Regions from separate parts of the Homo sapiens genome. Here all the other regions are linked to region 4. Evidence: promoter capture Hi-C in 16 types of primary human blood cells and fetal thymus (Javierre and others, 2016). All regions are on one chromosome and are shown on one strand. The core of a region is centred on a gene start or on the middle of the fragment in contact, and the rest is flanking DNA. Distances in the headings are between cores, read along the strand shown. Region 1 has its middle 47 kb from the start of OR10A7. Region 2 overlaps OR6C74 (olfactory receptor family 6 subfamily C member 74). Region 3 has its middle 27 kb from the start of OR10A7. Region 4 holds the start of OR2AP1 (olfactory receptor family 2 subfamily AP member 1).

What was found. Contacts are between HindIII fragments. The CHiCAGO score rates a contact against its expected background, and 5 or more counts as called.
Region 1: a fragment that was not itself captured here is called in contact with the fragment with the promoter of OR2AP1 in region 4 in 4 of 17 cell types (M2 macrophages, M0 macrophages, M1 macrophages and 1 more); the score reaches 7.2 in M2 macrophages.
Region 2: a contact is called between a fragment that was not itself captured here and the fragment with the promoter of OR2AP1 in region 4, in 5 of 17 cell types (M1 macrophages, M0 macrophages, total B cells and 2 more). The highest score is 8.3, in M1 macrophages.
Region 3: a fragment that was not itself captured here is called in contact with the fragment with the promoter of OR2AP1 in region 4 in 7 of 17 cell types (naive B cells, M0 macrophages, naive CD8 T cells and 4 more); the score reaches 11.5 in naive B cells.

Annotation. Positions count from the first base shown.
Region 1 is chr12:55,171,965-55,175,711 of GRCh38, forward strand. No RefSeq gene overlaps it. Among named protein-coding and RNA genes, the nearest start is that of OR10A7, 47 kb to the right of the region's middle. RefSeq lists enhancers at 197-1,396, 515-1,276. The HindIII fragment of the contact is 680 bases long and covers 2,104-2,783 here.
Region 2 is chr12:55,251,555-55,255,328 of GRCh38, forward strand. OR6C74 (olfactory receptor family 6 subfamily C member 74) reads left to right here. Exons shown (of 2, transcript NM_001005490.2): 2 at 1-3,774. Among named protein-coding and RNA genes, the nearest start is that of OR6C74, 8.8 kb to the left of the region's middle. The HindIII fragment of the contact is 245 bases long and covers 1,861-2,105 here.
Region 3 is chr12:55,192,548-55,196,110 of GRCh38, forward strand. It overlaps the pseudogene OR10U1P. Among named protein-coding and RNA genes, the nearest start is that of OR10A7, 27 kb to the right of the region's middle. The HindIII fragment of the contact is 1,346 bases long and covers 1,545-2,890 here.
Region 4 is chr12:55,570,518-55,574,134 of GRCh38, forward strand. OR2AP1 (olfactory receptor family 2 subfamily AP member 1) reads left to right here and starts at 1,951. Exons shown (of 2, transcript NM_001258285.2): 1 at 1,951-2,105. The HindIII fragment of the contact is 11,201 bases long and covers 1-3,617 here.

The DNA.
Region 1 (3,747 bases), core at 1,194-3,693, 400 kb before region 4:
ACAAGCTCTGTCTCTATGCCTGCCACCATCCATGTAAGACGTGACTTGCTCCTCTTTGCCTTCCACCATGATTGTGAGGCCTCCCCAGCCATGTGGAACTGTGAGTCCATTAAGCCTCTATCCTTTATAAATTACCCAGCCTCAGGTATGTCTTTATTAACAGTGTGAGCACAGACTAATACTGTAAGTTGGTACCAGGAGTAGGGCACTGCTGTAAAGACATCCAAAAATGTGAAAGTGACTTTGGAACTGTGTAACAGGCAGAGTTTGGAACAATTTGGAGGGCTCAGAAGAAGACAGGAAAATGTGGAAAAGTTGGAACTTCCTAGAGACTTGTTGAATGGCTTTTACCAAAATGCTGATAATGATATGGATGATGAAATCTAGGCTGAGGTGGTCTCAGATGGAGAGGAGGAACTTGTTGGGAACTGGAGTAAAGGCCACTCTTGCTACTCTTGCTATGTTTTATGTAGTGAAAGTATGAATACATTTCTGTTTTTTTGCAAATGGATATTCAATTGGTTCAGCACTATTGGTTGAAAGGTTATCTTTTTTTTTTTTTTTTTACTAAATTGCTTTTTTAGTGGACTGTCTTTTCCTTTGGTCTATTTGTGTTTCTTGATGTAAATTTCACACTATCTTAATTATTGTAGCTTTTTAAGTTCTCGTAAAATCAAGAGGTTTGATGCCTTCAGTTTTGTTCTTTTTGAAATCATTTTGGCTATCTTGGTTGTTTGCATATGTATGTAATATTTTGGATAAATTTTTAAATTTCTACCAAAAAGATCTACCAAAAAGAGGGTCCCCTTATCTTCCTTGAATCTCTGACACACCCCATAAGTGTTTATATCAGATACTTTTGTGAAGATGAGGGAACCTGCCCAGGGTCTTGTCTGGGCATGCCTGCCATAAACTGAGGGCCTGCCTGGGCACTGGGAGAATGAGTGGAGCCACTGGGAATTGGTGCCTTATGTAGTTAGGAGAAGGCTGGCCTCTTCAGCTTGAGTGTGGTGGCCTGGTATTCAATGAGGTGTGAGCCTGTTGGCAGGACCCCGTTTTTCTTGGCTGAGAGTTTTCTTTTTGCCTAATAAATCTGTCCTTCTCACCCTTCAAAGTGTCCATGTGCCTAATTTTTCCTGGTTGTGAGGCAAGAACGTGGATTTTAGCTAAACTAAGGAGCAAAATATCCCACATCATTTTGGTGGCCTGTATGGGGACATGAGGAAGGGTGAATCAAATGCAGAATCCCCCACAAAACCTCTTTCCCTTTTGTTTCTCAGCTTTTTCTTGCCCTCAGACATCTTCTGAAGGTAGAGAAAACTGTGACCCTCCACTTCCGTTGCCTTGGGGATTGCGAATGTCAACCTCAGTCCAACCCAGTCTTTTCTATGGCATTTTCCTTCTTTTGGGGGGGATTGTAATGGCACCTATCTTTTCTTTTACAATATTGGGGGTGTTCCACCACCACCCCAATGGTCACAGGCATGCATGCAAGACAGATAGGTGAGTGGTGACTCCCTGCCCACCTCCACCCAGCTGGGGCTGGGGCACCTGGCCCAAGGGCTCCACACAGCACGCTGGCCAGCATTCCCAGCAGCATCGAAAAGTTTCTCTCCAGTCCAACAGCAAGTAAAATTTCTCTCCCTGTTGGAGGAACACATTTGCATAAGAATAGGAGATTCTTCCCCCAGGCATCTTTCCAACTCTGTACTTAAGATGTTTTATTTTCTTTTCTTCACCCCATCAGCACTTAACACATCCCTGCACTTTAAGCTGTATTTTTTCTTTTCTCCACCAGGTCAGGAGTTGGTGGGTTGGTGCAAAAGTAGTTGTGTTATTTGACATTACTTAGCATGATGGGGACCATGAATGCTTTTGCACCAACCTAATAACACGCTCCTGCAAGTAGAAGGGACTTCTCTATGCCAGAGGCCTTTTTTCCTTTGAGAAGACATTATACTAGGCCAGGACTCAGTACACAAGACACCCTTTTCTCTCTCTTGTTGGAGGAGGACTCAGTTCCACAGCTTCACCTTAGCATTTGGCTTGTAAAGTGTCCACACAACCCGCCGAAGCAGTTCTTTTGTCCCAAACTCAATTCCAAGCTTTGAGTCGAAGCCCTAGGAAAGAAAACTCAATCTGGGGTATAGTGTTGAATAATATTCTATTGTCTAAATGTGCTACACTTTCTTTATCCATTCACCTACTGAAGAGCATCTTGATTGCTTCTGTTTTGGTAATTATGAAAAAGGTGTTACAGATATCAGGGCATAGGTTTTTTCGTGGATATAAGTTTTCAACTCTTTTGGGTGAATACTACACAGTGTGATGGCTGGGTCATATTGTAATAGTGAATTTAGTTTTGTAAGACAAGGCTAACCTGTCTTTCAAAGTGGCCGTGCCATTTTGCATTTCCATAAAAATTAAATGAACATGCTTGTTGCCCTATATCCTCACCAGTATTTTGCATTGCCAGTGCTCTGGATTTTGGCCATTCTAATAGATGTGTGGTAGTATCGTGTTATTTTAGTTTGCATTGCCCTGATGACATTTGATGCAGAACATCTTTTCATATGCTTATTTGACATTTGGCTATTTTTTGTGTGTCTGTTAAGCTATGTGGCCTATTTTTAATATTAAGTTATTTGCTTTCATATTGTTGAGTTTTAAGAGTTGTTTGTATATTTTGGTAACAGTCCTTTATCAGATATGACTTTGCAGAAATTTCCTTTCAGCCTGTGGCTTGTCTTTTTATTTTGCTGACTTTTTTTTTAACTGTACAAAGCTTACACATTAGTCAGATTTATTACTAAATATTTAATGTTTTGAATCTATTCAGTGGTGTATTTTTAGAAGAATCCAGTTATACTCTAACTCTCCCAGAGTTATATTAGAAATACCATATAACACTCCCAGAGATATGTTAGAAATAACATATCTAAACTCATCATGAGGCCAACATTACTTTGAAAACATATCCATCTCTCATGAATATAGCTACAACAATTCTTAATAAAATTTCAGAAAATCAAATCTGCAAATATAAAAAGAGGAAACATTAATGTTACCACATTATAAGAAATCAATGTAATTCTCAAGGCTACACTAGATTCAAAATATGGAGAAGTATATGTAAATTCTATCTCTTTGTAAGGATGAGCTGGCAAATATCAGAGTGATATTTGCAATTAATCACAAGATAGTATCCCCCTGTTGAAGGGTGTGAAGTAACACACTAGAAGGGGCAGGTTGATGAATATAGAGCCATTGTATAATCTCCACCCTTTTTCCTTAATACTCCAATTTTTTGAAAGAGAAATAAACTTATAGCTTATTCAGGTTGCATTGATTTTGTGATTTATGATCCTCATAATTTTCAAGAACAATCCTTGTAAATATGCTATTTCTGTGTGGATCCTTCCTCCACTCCTTGATGCTGGATGCTTCTCCCATACCGCAGATTTGAGGTTTACTTCCCAGAAAGTGTAAAGCGGAGGGTTTCTAGACTTGGAGACATAATGTACAGAAGATGAGTGGTTTTATACCAAAACTATGCGACTAAATTCCATATTCTGAACATATGTGAGATGTCCCAGGACTCCTCCCTCATTTGACAATTTTTGCTTCACATATTTTAATGGTCTGTGATTAAGTGTGTGAATGTTTATAATTGTTTTATCTTCTTGTGGTATTAAAACTTTTATTGATATGTCCTCCTTTTTTCTTGTTATTTTTAAAAATTTAAAG
Region 2 (3,774 bases), core at 733-3,232, 320 kb before region 4:
ATAAAAATGTAAGCCTAGATTAAGGATGTCTACTATAAAATAATTAATAGATTGGACTTGATGACAGGCAATATGAAAAAAAAATTAGGTGTTAGAAAACTACAAGTTTACTATAAATATGGAGTGTTTATGAGCATTGAAGAGATAATTCAATTGTATGATACAATAAAGTCCCATTGTATCATACATATCTCAAAAATTCTGTTTAGTTTTATCCTTTAAAAATCTTTTGAAGTAAAAGAATAGTCAATATTATCATAAATTTAGAAATTATGTCATATGAGAAAATATTTAGGGTACTAATGACATGGAGCTTGAGAAAAAATTGCTTATAAGAAAAATAAATGCTACCTTCAAATATTAAGATTACTGTGTTCTCAAAAATTATGGACTTGCTTTTCTTTTTATAAGTGTAAGTGTGCAACTGGTGTTTATCAAACATTCAATTAGTAAATATATGTATATTTTTCATGGTACATGCACATTTATCAGTTTATAATTTATATATAAACAATAGTATAAAATATTTTGAAATTTTAATAGAAAAATAGGAATTAATAAAGGAAATTATACAAAATGATCAATATATTTTAATAATATAACTTTACAGTATAACTTTTAATTTTACTTATGGTACAAATATTAGTTTCATTTTAATTCAGCATACTTTATTATACTTGCAAATACTTATGTAATTATTGTGTGAAATGAACTGCAAGTCTTATTACAGTTTATTTTACCTTGTACTTAGTTATGTGGGTTGTTGTAGTGCAAAGTTAATGCTTCACAATAATGTGGATCCATTTTAAATGAACTGGAAATCACAATAATTATTCTTCAATCCCATTCAAATATGCTTTTTTTTTTGAAATTGACTACATTAATGTTAATCAGCTGTCTTGATTTTGCATTTTTATGTAATTTTCTAAAAGCACACAAATGTTTTAAAATATTAAAATGATTATGTTTTCAAGTTTTCTAATGAGTAGATGAGTATTTTTATATTTAATGAGTTTAAATAATTTCCAGTAACAAAAATCGTGGAAAGAATTTCAAACAGTCAATTTCCAAATTTCTCTTTTAATTCAACTTTCTTTTGATAATGGGTTACTTTTTCCCATATTTTTAAAACACCATCTGTTTTGGAACAGAGTAAGGGGGTGATATCTTCAAGAAAACATATTACTGATGGAGACCTGTTGTCATAGGGAAGGGAAAACTAGGCTATGTCTACTTATAAAATAAAATTCCATAATTCTCTTCAATGTGTCTTTTAAAATACTTTACATAAGAAATTCTGATTCTGTATCTGATACAAGTTTTTAAATTATTACTTAGCATATCATCATACATTTCTGATTTGCTTCTCTTCCTTTTTTTTCTTCTCCACCTCCCCTTCCTTCTCCTTTCTCTTCTAACAACCCTTTAAAAATGTAAAATACATCTCAGGATCTCAGGTGGAAGTCTGTACCAAAACAATCCTTGGCCTGTGGGCTATGGTTTGCTGGCCTGTGGAATAAATGATGGCAAAGGGCTAGAGTACAAAGGTATACCATTTTATTTGCAGGTTGTGCCAATAAATTCTTGTATTATCTATTAATCCATAAACATTCATTCCCAAAATCAATAACTGGATATTTAGTGCCAGAATTATTTTTGATTTATTCTAGTAAATGGGCCATAACTGAAAAGACAGTTGCAATTGAATTTACTACCTAATTTAACTTATGGGTTCATTATCATCTGCTAAAATTTATCTGTGTTAGGAGAGGCAGACAGTTGAGTTCAATGGGTATGTGGATTAAGTCACCACTCCTGCATCTTTGTTTTTTAAGTCTTTGATGGTGGCACTAGCTTTGAAGCTTTTCCAAGGATATAATGATGCTGTCTGTTTATTATCTCTTAGTGAGGGAGACCATATGGTTTTCCACTTGGCCCTGAATATATGTGTTTTAACTGTATGCACAGGACAACTTTGCACATGCACTAGGTTCACTGTAAAACAGACTAGCACATAATCATAACTTATCAGGAAAATGTCTCTGACTCCAATTTCTTCCACTCTTATAAGTAAACACACTGGCATTTTATAGTCATTGTAATTAAGCTTAGCTCAGAAATGAGGTGGAATAACCTCTGAAAAATCCATGTTTCATTGATTTCACTGTACGATTTTCTTGGGAAAGGACCACATATCTATTGAAGGACACTAGCGGAAGATTTGGATATTAATATGCATGACAGTTTTGCAAAGACAACTTTCTTCATGGGTTCTGGTTCTATGAAAGGATTGAAGTCTGTAATTGAATAAGGAGCTTTAACTCCATTATGATGGCTAATTCATTCTTCCTTTCACTTATCCTAGAGTTCTTTCAATTATATGGACCAGTTAGAAACCTAATGAGCTGCCTGTTTATTTTAGTCCTAGGAACTTCATAATCTGTTGTTCACTACTAAAGTGCATCATGCAATATTGATAACTACTTCGGCCATACTGACCAATAAGTAACCACACTGAATATGCTCATATCAGTTAAGTGCTATTACATAGCCTCTGACTTTCCATGATCCATCATGTCCACTGAAATCAGGGAGTTCATTTTAACAAAAGCATCTTCCATCTTCATTTCAAACCAGTGGTTACAATACTTTTTAAAGCTGCTAGCAAATACCCTTGTGAATATTTTAATATCTTGCCAAAAGATTTTCCTCTGGGTATTCTCCAGTTACATAGCTAAGGGGTATGTAAGTAAATTGCATACAATAAAGCTGTTCCATATTGCAATTCCTCTAAGTTTTAGATTTATATTTACATATATGAAATACATACACACATATATGTAATTCCCAGTTGGGATCCTTTCAGATTTCCAATCAATTAACTTTCACAAAAGATATCTGGGAAGGATGTAAATTTAACCAATATTGCTGTATAATAAACTGCGAGATCAGAGCCTACCTTTGTTTTCAGCACCAAGTGACATGAGGATTTAAGAGATAAATTTATTTAGGACAGTCATGGGAACTTCATGATTTGCTGATTATTGTATAATTCAAGATAATAATTAAAGGATACAACCTTGTAATTTTCTTTCTTTAAGATCCTCAATATGGATCTTACCATGTTATAGCCTTATAGCATGTGCAGTACTTGTATTTCACATGCTTAGCACAGTGCTCTTTACCTTATACATCTACTTTGAGAAAGCTCAGCCTTAAATATAAGCTTCTTTCCAAGTGATAATATTTGATGCCATAGACTTGTAATATTCCATTTTCTTATGGTTGCAGCACTTCTCAGACCTTTCAAGATGATATTAACTAATTATAAATTACCCTTCTTAAGGATCTATTTCATGCAACCACTTGTAGTACCAAATATATCAGTTATCACTGTTAGGTTGCAATTCTCCATGGCATTTCTACACATTTAATATTATGCTTGGTCTGGATTTTTTTTTACAAAGTTGTTTTAATATCATTCAGCCTTGAAAGATCGAAATAATACCTCCCTCCAGGGCAGAAGGGAGATTTGCTTCCTGACTAGGATTATAAAATAGATGTCTCCCAGGGTGGCCAGGTTGGGCAGGTTTTCTAGCTATCTCTTTAAAATAGTGGGGGTTCCCTAAGTTCAGGATTTCACAGTTGTGTTACAGACTGATTGTGTCTGCTCTACCCATGGAGCCCCCTCTGCATTGCACCCCCTGGGGACTGGGAGGCAAAGGGAACGAGGAAACAACAGATGTTGGTGAGGATGTGGAGAAGTAGGAACAC
Region 3 (3,563 bases), core at 968-3,467, 380 kb before region 4:
TGAGTGAGTCCCAGACAGTGATAATATGTAGTTAACAATGCAGTTCTGTCAATATGATTGCATGTTATTCCACAAAAGCTATTAGGTTTCCCAATGATAATATGCATCATTTTCTTGCAGCACTGTTAAGTCTACCTTACTTCAGTGTTGAGAACCTCTTCAGAAAGGGGCCAGCTATATTGCCGTTGCTCCCCTTGTAGTCTATACCCAAAACCTCTTCTCCTATTTCCTTCACAAGATTAAATTTTAGTGGTTATTTATGGAACCTGACATAATAATGGACACACTGTTTTTCTTAACTCATGTGTATCGTTTTCCCACTTCCAAGCTTCTTTCAAATAAATTAATTGCACTTGTATTAGAGTTTGACTCTAGAGTATCAACACTAAGATAAAATCAAAAAACTTTCAGGTTGACAAAATGTCTCTGAACATTTACATTTTTGTCAACTTCTCTAAAGTTGCCATAAGAAACCAACAGTTTTTTAAAGTTCTTTGTTTTAGTGTCTTATAGAAGACTTGCTTTTTATTATTCAAAGAGACAAAAACAATATATATTAGCTAGAATATATACACCGTGACAAAAGAAAATTATATTTAAATCAATACATTTAAACAGGGTTTACAATAGGTGTAATAAGATTGTATGTCTCAAAGGCAGACATTTCCCTAAGTCTTTACTCACATGAAAAACAAATAAACAAACCAACAAAAAACAGGTGGATAAGAGCAAAGGAAAACTCATGTTTCAGATAAAGAATTCAGGTCTCTCACTGGATTTACAAACTAAATATTTAAAGTTCTTTCATGGTGTACACCACTCATTAGTATTTATTAACAGTTGGTTATTTAATATGTATGACCTTAAGATGTACAGAGAGCACACTAATTAAAGGAGCATACTCCAATTAAGAACTTAAATTCTAATAGACTATATTTGATACTAAAATAGTATTACTTCCTGTTTATTTCATTTTTTGTTTTATACTCATAAAGGATATTTCATTTTCCTCAGGAAAATGGCATGAAACATACTGGACTTAATGCTATTACCACTGGAGAAGGAGAAAATGGTAGCTTGACACATGAGATGCCCTGTAAATACTGTTGAATGAATGAATGATTAACAATTGAATGAATCTACTGTGTAGTTTCCTTTTACTTACAGACATTGAAAAATGTGTGACAAATCCAAATGTTTTTTGGTAGCTAGGCTATAAATGCTTTAATAAAAGAATATGTTGGTAGAAGAATCATAAAATCGGGTAACCTCTCTGTACAGTAGCATAGGTTTCAGCTACTATGACTGGTTTAGGCCGTTTGTCTAAGAGAGTTCCTTTGGGTTATCCTTTGAAAGGCTTCCTTTACTTCCTTGTTCCTCAAGGTATAGATAACAGGATTCAAAGCAGGTGTGACCATTGTGTACATGAGTGCAGTTGCTTTGTCTGTTTCTGGAGTGTGTGCAGTCTTAGGTTGCAGATAAGTGAACAAGGCAGTGCCATAGAACAGAGAAACAACCAAGATATGAGAAGAACAAGTGGAGAAAGCTTTGTGTCTTCCAGCTGCTGAAGGGATTCTCAAGATGGTCACAGGGATGTGCATGTGGGAGCACAGAATGAGGAAACAAGGACTCACAATAAATAGCACGGAGAGAGAAAACATCACAATTTCAATTTGGGAGGTATCAATACAAGCCAGTTTCAGTACAGGCATTATGTCACAAAAAAGTGTTGAATCTTTCCTGTTCCACAGAAAGGCAAAGTGAAGATCAGGGTGATCTGGGCTGACTCCACCACCACTCCAGTGAACCAAGATGCTGCAGCCAATTTCAAACAAACACGAGGGCCCATGAAGAGAGTGTAATGCAGTGGGTAACAAATAGCTACAAAGCGATCGTAAGCCATAGCTGCTAGCAAGCAGCATTCTGTCAGTCCCAAGATGGCAAATATGTACATCTGGGTTGCACAGCCACCCACACTTATGGTTTTGGTCTCCACCAGCAGGTGCACCAGCATGAGGCACCACACTGGTGGTATAGCACATCTCCAGAAATGAGAGGTTCACCAGGAAGAAATACATTGGAGTGTGCAGGGCAGGGGTGATCCAGATCAGGGAGATGATGATGATATTTCCTCCTATAGTGCATAAGTGATGATTAAGAACACAATGAAGAGTACAAGCTGTAATTCTTCTATAGAAGAAAAAGCCACAAATGTGAATTTGGCACACAGGGACTGATTTCCATCTATGGTGGGCTCAGAGCTAAACATCTGTGCAGACAACAAAGAAGGCAGGTTAATGGGAATGCAGTCACCTAACACATCTCTCTACTGAACCACAGCAAAGGAGCTTTCCTAGAATCAGTAGTCTGAGATGAGAATCTAGACACCTGGATTTCTTCTGTTAAATCTTTCTAAACTACACAATTACATCGAATACATATTTCTTCCTGATTTTAAGTTATGGATTATATGCAATTTTCACAAACATTTGGAAAAAACAATGGTTTTTAAGTTGCATATTCTGAATCTTTTGTTTTTGTCTTATCACTAATTATATACAGAAGCTATTATGCAAGCAATATATGAAGACTTATAATTTTAAAGGAGTCACATAAAAATTAATAGATTCAGATGTAAAGGTGTTATACTCTGGTCTTCCAAATTCTATAACCTTCCTTAAAGCTACACTTAAGGGCTTAAAAGGGAATATATTTCCAGCTGTTTATCTATGTATTTATGTACATATTTTACTTGATCTGAACAGAATAAGCAAATAATTACAAAGCTAAGATCCAAGAAAGCCAAAATCGACAGAATCTCCTTTCTACAACCTCAGTGTAAATTTGCAAGAAATTACAAATAGGAGAACATACCTAGAACCACAAGGTAAGCTTTCTTTTCCTTTTTGGGCTCCTAGACTTCCTATGGCTCTAAATTATAGCACAGTGATAGAATAGGCAGTATTTTTATTTCTACTAGAGACCATAGGGAATACATCCACTGTGCAGCTTAATTATATTTGTCTCAAGAGGAGTATATTAAAAACAATGAGTGTTTAATGTGCAAGTTGGTTTTCAGTTGTTAAAGACATTTCCAGAGATACCTATTGCTGTCAGTTATATCACCTGTTCCAATGCATAAAACTAAAAGTTGCTAATTGGAACCCATCATACAACTGAAATTATTATTAAACTCTATGGATGTTTGCCATAGTAATCCTTTTTAAGCTCCTCAAATGGACAGTGACTAATTAGGCCTTTGTAATATTGGTAGGCACAGTGCATGGAACATAGTAGCCTCCATAAACCCCCAAAATAGCATTCACTTTATTCATTATTTATTATTCAATTGCTAGCAGCATTAAAAAAATAGGCACGGGAAGAAAACCCCAAATTTCCAATGGAATTAATTAAAGTAATTGGTCAAAAACATTAAAAAATGTATTTTTCTTCTACTGTCTTCAAGAAATGAAAATATTTTTCATTCTGAATGATCCCCATTGCTCCATTCCGGACACATTTTCTTTTCACTGTCAGGTCAATATGGTAAATTCATTGGGACA
Region 4 (3,617 bases), core at 701-3,200:
TTGCTGCTTAGAAATTTCTTCTGCCAGATACCCTAAATCATCTGTCTCAAGTTCAACATTCCACAAATCTCTAGGACAGGGGGATAATGCTGCCAGTCTTTTTGCTAAAACATAACAAGAGTTACCTTTGCTCCATTTCCCAACCAGTTCTTCATCTCCATCTGAGAGCACCTCAGCCTGGACTTTATTGCCCATATTGCTATCAGTATTTTGGGCTAAGCCATTCAACAAGACTCTAGGAAGTTCCAAACTTACCCACATTTTCCTGTCTTCTCAGCCCTCCAAACTGTTCCAACCTCTGCCTGTTACTCAGTTCCAAAGTCGCTTCCACATTTTTGGGTATCTTTTCAGCAGCACCCCACTTCTGGTACCAATTTACTGTATTAGTCCATTTTCACACTGCTGATAAAGACATACCCAAGACTAGGCAATTTACAAAAGAAAGAGGTTTAGTGGACTCACAGTTCCACATGGCTGGGGAGGCATGACAATCATGGCAGAAGGGAAAAGGCACATCTCACATGGTGGCAGACAAGAGAAGAGAATGATAGCCAAGTAAAAGGAGTTTCCCCTTATAAAACCATCAGATCTTGTGAGACTTATTTACTAGCATGAGAAAAGTATGGGGGAAACCACCCCCTGATTCAATTATCTCCTATTGGGTCCCTCCCACAACATGAGGGAATTATGGGAGCTATAATTCAAGATGAGATTTGGTGGAGACACAGCAAAACCATACCTATGTTCATTGCAGTACTGGTCACAATAGCAAAGACATATAATCAACCTAAAAGTCCATCAATAGTAGACTGGATAAAGAAAATGTGGTACCAATTCACCATGGAATACTATGCAGCCATTAAAAAAGAGCAAGATCATGTCCTCTGCAAGAACATGAATGGAGCTGGAAGCCATTATACACAAATTAATGCAGGAACAGAAAACCAAATACCACATGTTCACACTTATAAGTGGGAGCTAAATGAAAACAAATGGACACAAAGAGGGGACCAATAGGCACTGGGGCCTATTTGAGGGAGGAAGGCAAGAGGAATAAGAAGAAGATCAGAAAAAAATAACCACTGGGTACTATGCTTAGTACCTGGGTGATGAAATAATCTGTACACCAAACCTTCATGACACAAGTCTACCTATATAACAAACCTGCACATGTACCCCTGAACCTAATATAAAAGTTAAGAAAAGAAAATGTGGCTTTTTAGGACCTCCAAATTTTTCCACCTAACCTGTTTGTCCATAGCCAAGTCCAGCTATGACCACCCACCTGAGAAAGAAAAATATAATTACTCCATACTCTTCTTCTCTGTGGCTAATGTTCTCTGGATACCTCCCCCACCACCACCAATGTGTCTCCAAACTAGTCTCCCTGGACCCTCTTCTCTCAGCTGTCTATTTAAAGTTTGTTCCCAAAGTTATTCACAAAGGACATTCATTAGCCTGTTCCAGATGAGGATCCCCCAGGCAACTTGTGTTTCTTCACTCGACTGATCCCCAGTGCATTCTCTCAATAGAGCAGGTATAACCTGTGTCACTCTGGGTAAAGTTTAATCTGGGGTAGGACAGGGAGTTCATATTATGCCTTCTGAGATCATCAGTTTATTTCTCCTACAACAGAAAAATTCAAGACTACTCTGCTTCTCAAAGTCCTTGTTTTAGTGTCCTAGTTATTGGCTATGCTTTAAAAAGAGGATGTCCAAAAACTCTGATTCAGCTCCTGTTTAATTAGTTGAATAACAGATCAGCAAATCCCCACTGAAATGATAAGAAACAGAAGCAGCGGACTACTTCTTACCAGGAAAAGTTTGGAAATTTGTGTATTTCTATGAAATGTAGTATAGAACTTGGTGGCAGAAAAGGTAAAACAAAAAATGCAATAATTCTTATACTATTTTGTAATTATATTGCCTTCTAATTTTAATTTGCCACCAAGAATATTTAGGATTAAAATCTCACAATAGTCATTTGGATAGTCAAGTCAGGAAGTATGTTACCTGTTTATAGCTTCATTTATTTTACTTCTCTGGAGTTGTAAAGACTGAAACTGATGCAGATGTGAATATTCAACCACTCCCTGAAGACTCCAGGTTAGTAACCAGGAGGAGAGGGCATCTGCAGCTGATGCTCTCTGGCTACCATCCCCAGCACCACCAACCCATCTCCAAGCTAACTTCTCTGGACCCTCTTCTCTCAGCTGTATATTTAAAGTTTGTTCCCTAAGTTATTTACAATAACTTTTCTTGATCCCTGATTTCAACTGTTGACTGCAACCCAATAGGAGGTTATAAAATCAATTTAGTGGGCTTCAACCAGCATTTTAAAAAGTAAATAGAAAATATCAGATTTTATCACATGGGTCAGGTACAGTGCCTCACATCTGTAATCTCAGCACTTTGGGAGGCCAAAGTGAGAGGATCATTTGAGCCCAGGAGTTCAAAACCAGCCTGGGCAACATAGCAAGACCCCATCTTCACAAAAAATAAAAAATAATAATTAGCTAGGCATGGTAGTGCATGCCTGTGGTCCCAGCTAATCAGGAGGCTGGGGTTGAAGGATCACTAGAGGCCAGGAGGTCAAGGCTGAAGTGAGTCATGATCATGCTAATGCACTCCAGCCTGGGTGTCAGAGTAAGACTGTGGCTCAAAATACATATATATATATATATTATACCTTATGTGGTAAGGAACGCTCTATAAAACTTTTAAGTGAGATCTATATGTGTTTATTAAAATATATATAATTTAGAATGAATTTTAATCAAGAATGCTTTAAAGCTGCTGCCTTATAAACATTTATAAAAACATAACTAGAAAGAAATCTTGAATAAATCAATAAGGGCACTCCCAGATAATGTGACTCTTTAACTGCATGGGCTCACAAATAAAGTAGAAACTTGAAATGCCCATGAAGTACCCAAATATGGAATCTCCCAGAAAATCCTGTATCATAGTTTTGTACATTTTCCCCATAAAATTCACATGCCCACATACACAAAATGTTTTACACATAATTTAATGGATTCACAGACATAGTAAATCTAATCTAGGGATTAGTAGATCCCTGGTTTAAAAGTTCTTGCTTTAAATATTCTTAAGATCCTAACATTTCCTTGGAATTTAATAGAATCTCCCTATCCTTACAGGAAGCAAAATTCTAGATCTAAAGATTCTGAATGTGTTTGAGGAAATATTCTAATCTAATATTTACTGACCCCTAGAAAGTATGTAGAATGTTTCAAAGGACAGAATAGCATAACCCTAATACACAAATCTTTGAATCTAACAGACAGACATAGGCTAAGAAGTTGGAGGGTCCACTGGAAAGAAGTGGGAAGATGATACTTTTTTTGCTTCAAGGGAATTAAGGAAGCTGAACCTGAAGAAAAATGAGAAATTGCTATATTTATATGAAAAAAAGGTAGGGAAGAGTAAGAAAAATGACAATTCTGAGAAGAGTTAGGCACAAAAAGGAAGTAGGGCAATGAATGGGATCAATGAGAAATAAAGTTAATGTTGGGGGGAAGAAATTCATAACCATTCTGGAAGGAGGTAGCAGCTGGAGGCATTCTTTTATTAACTTATTTCACAATGTTTTGAATA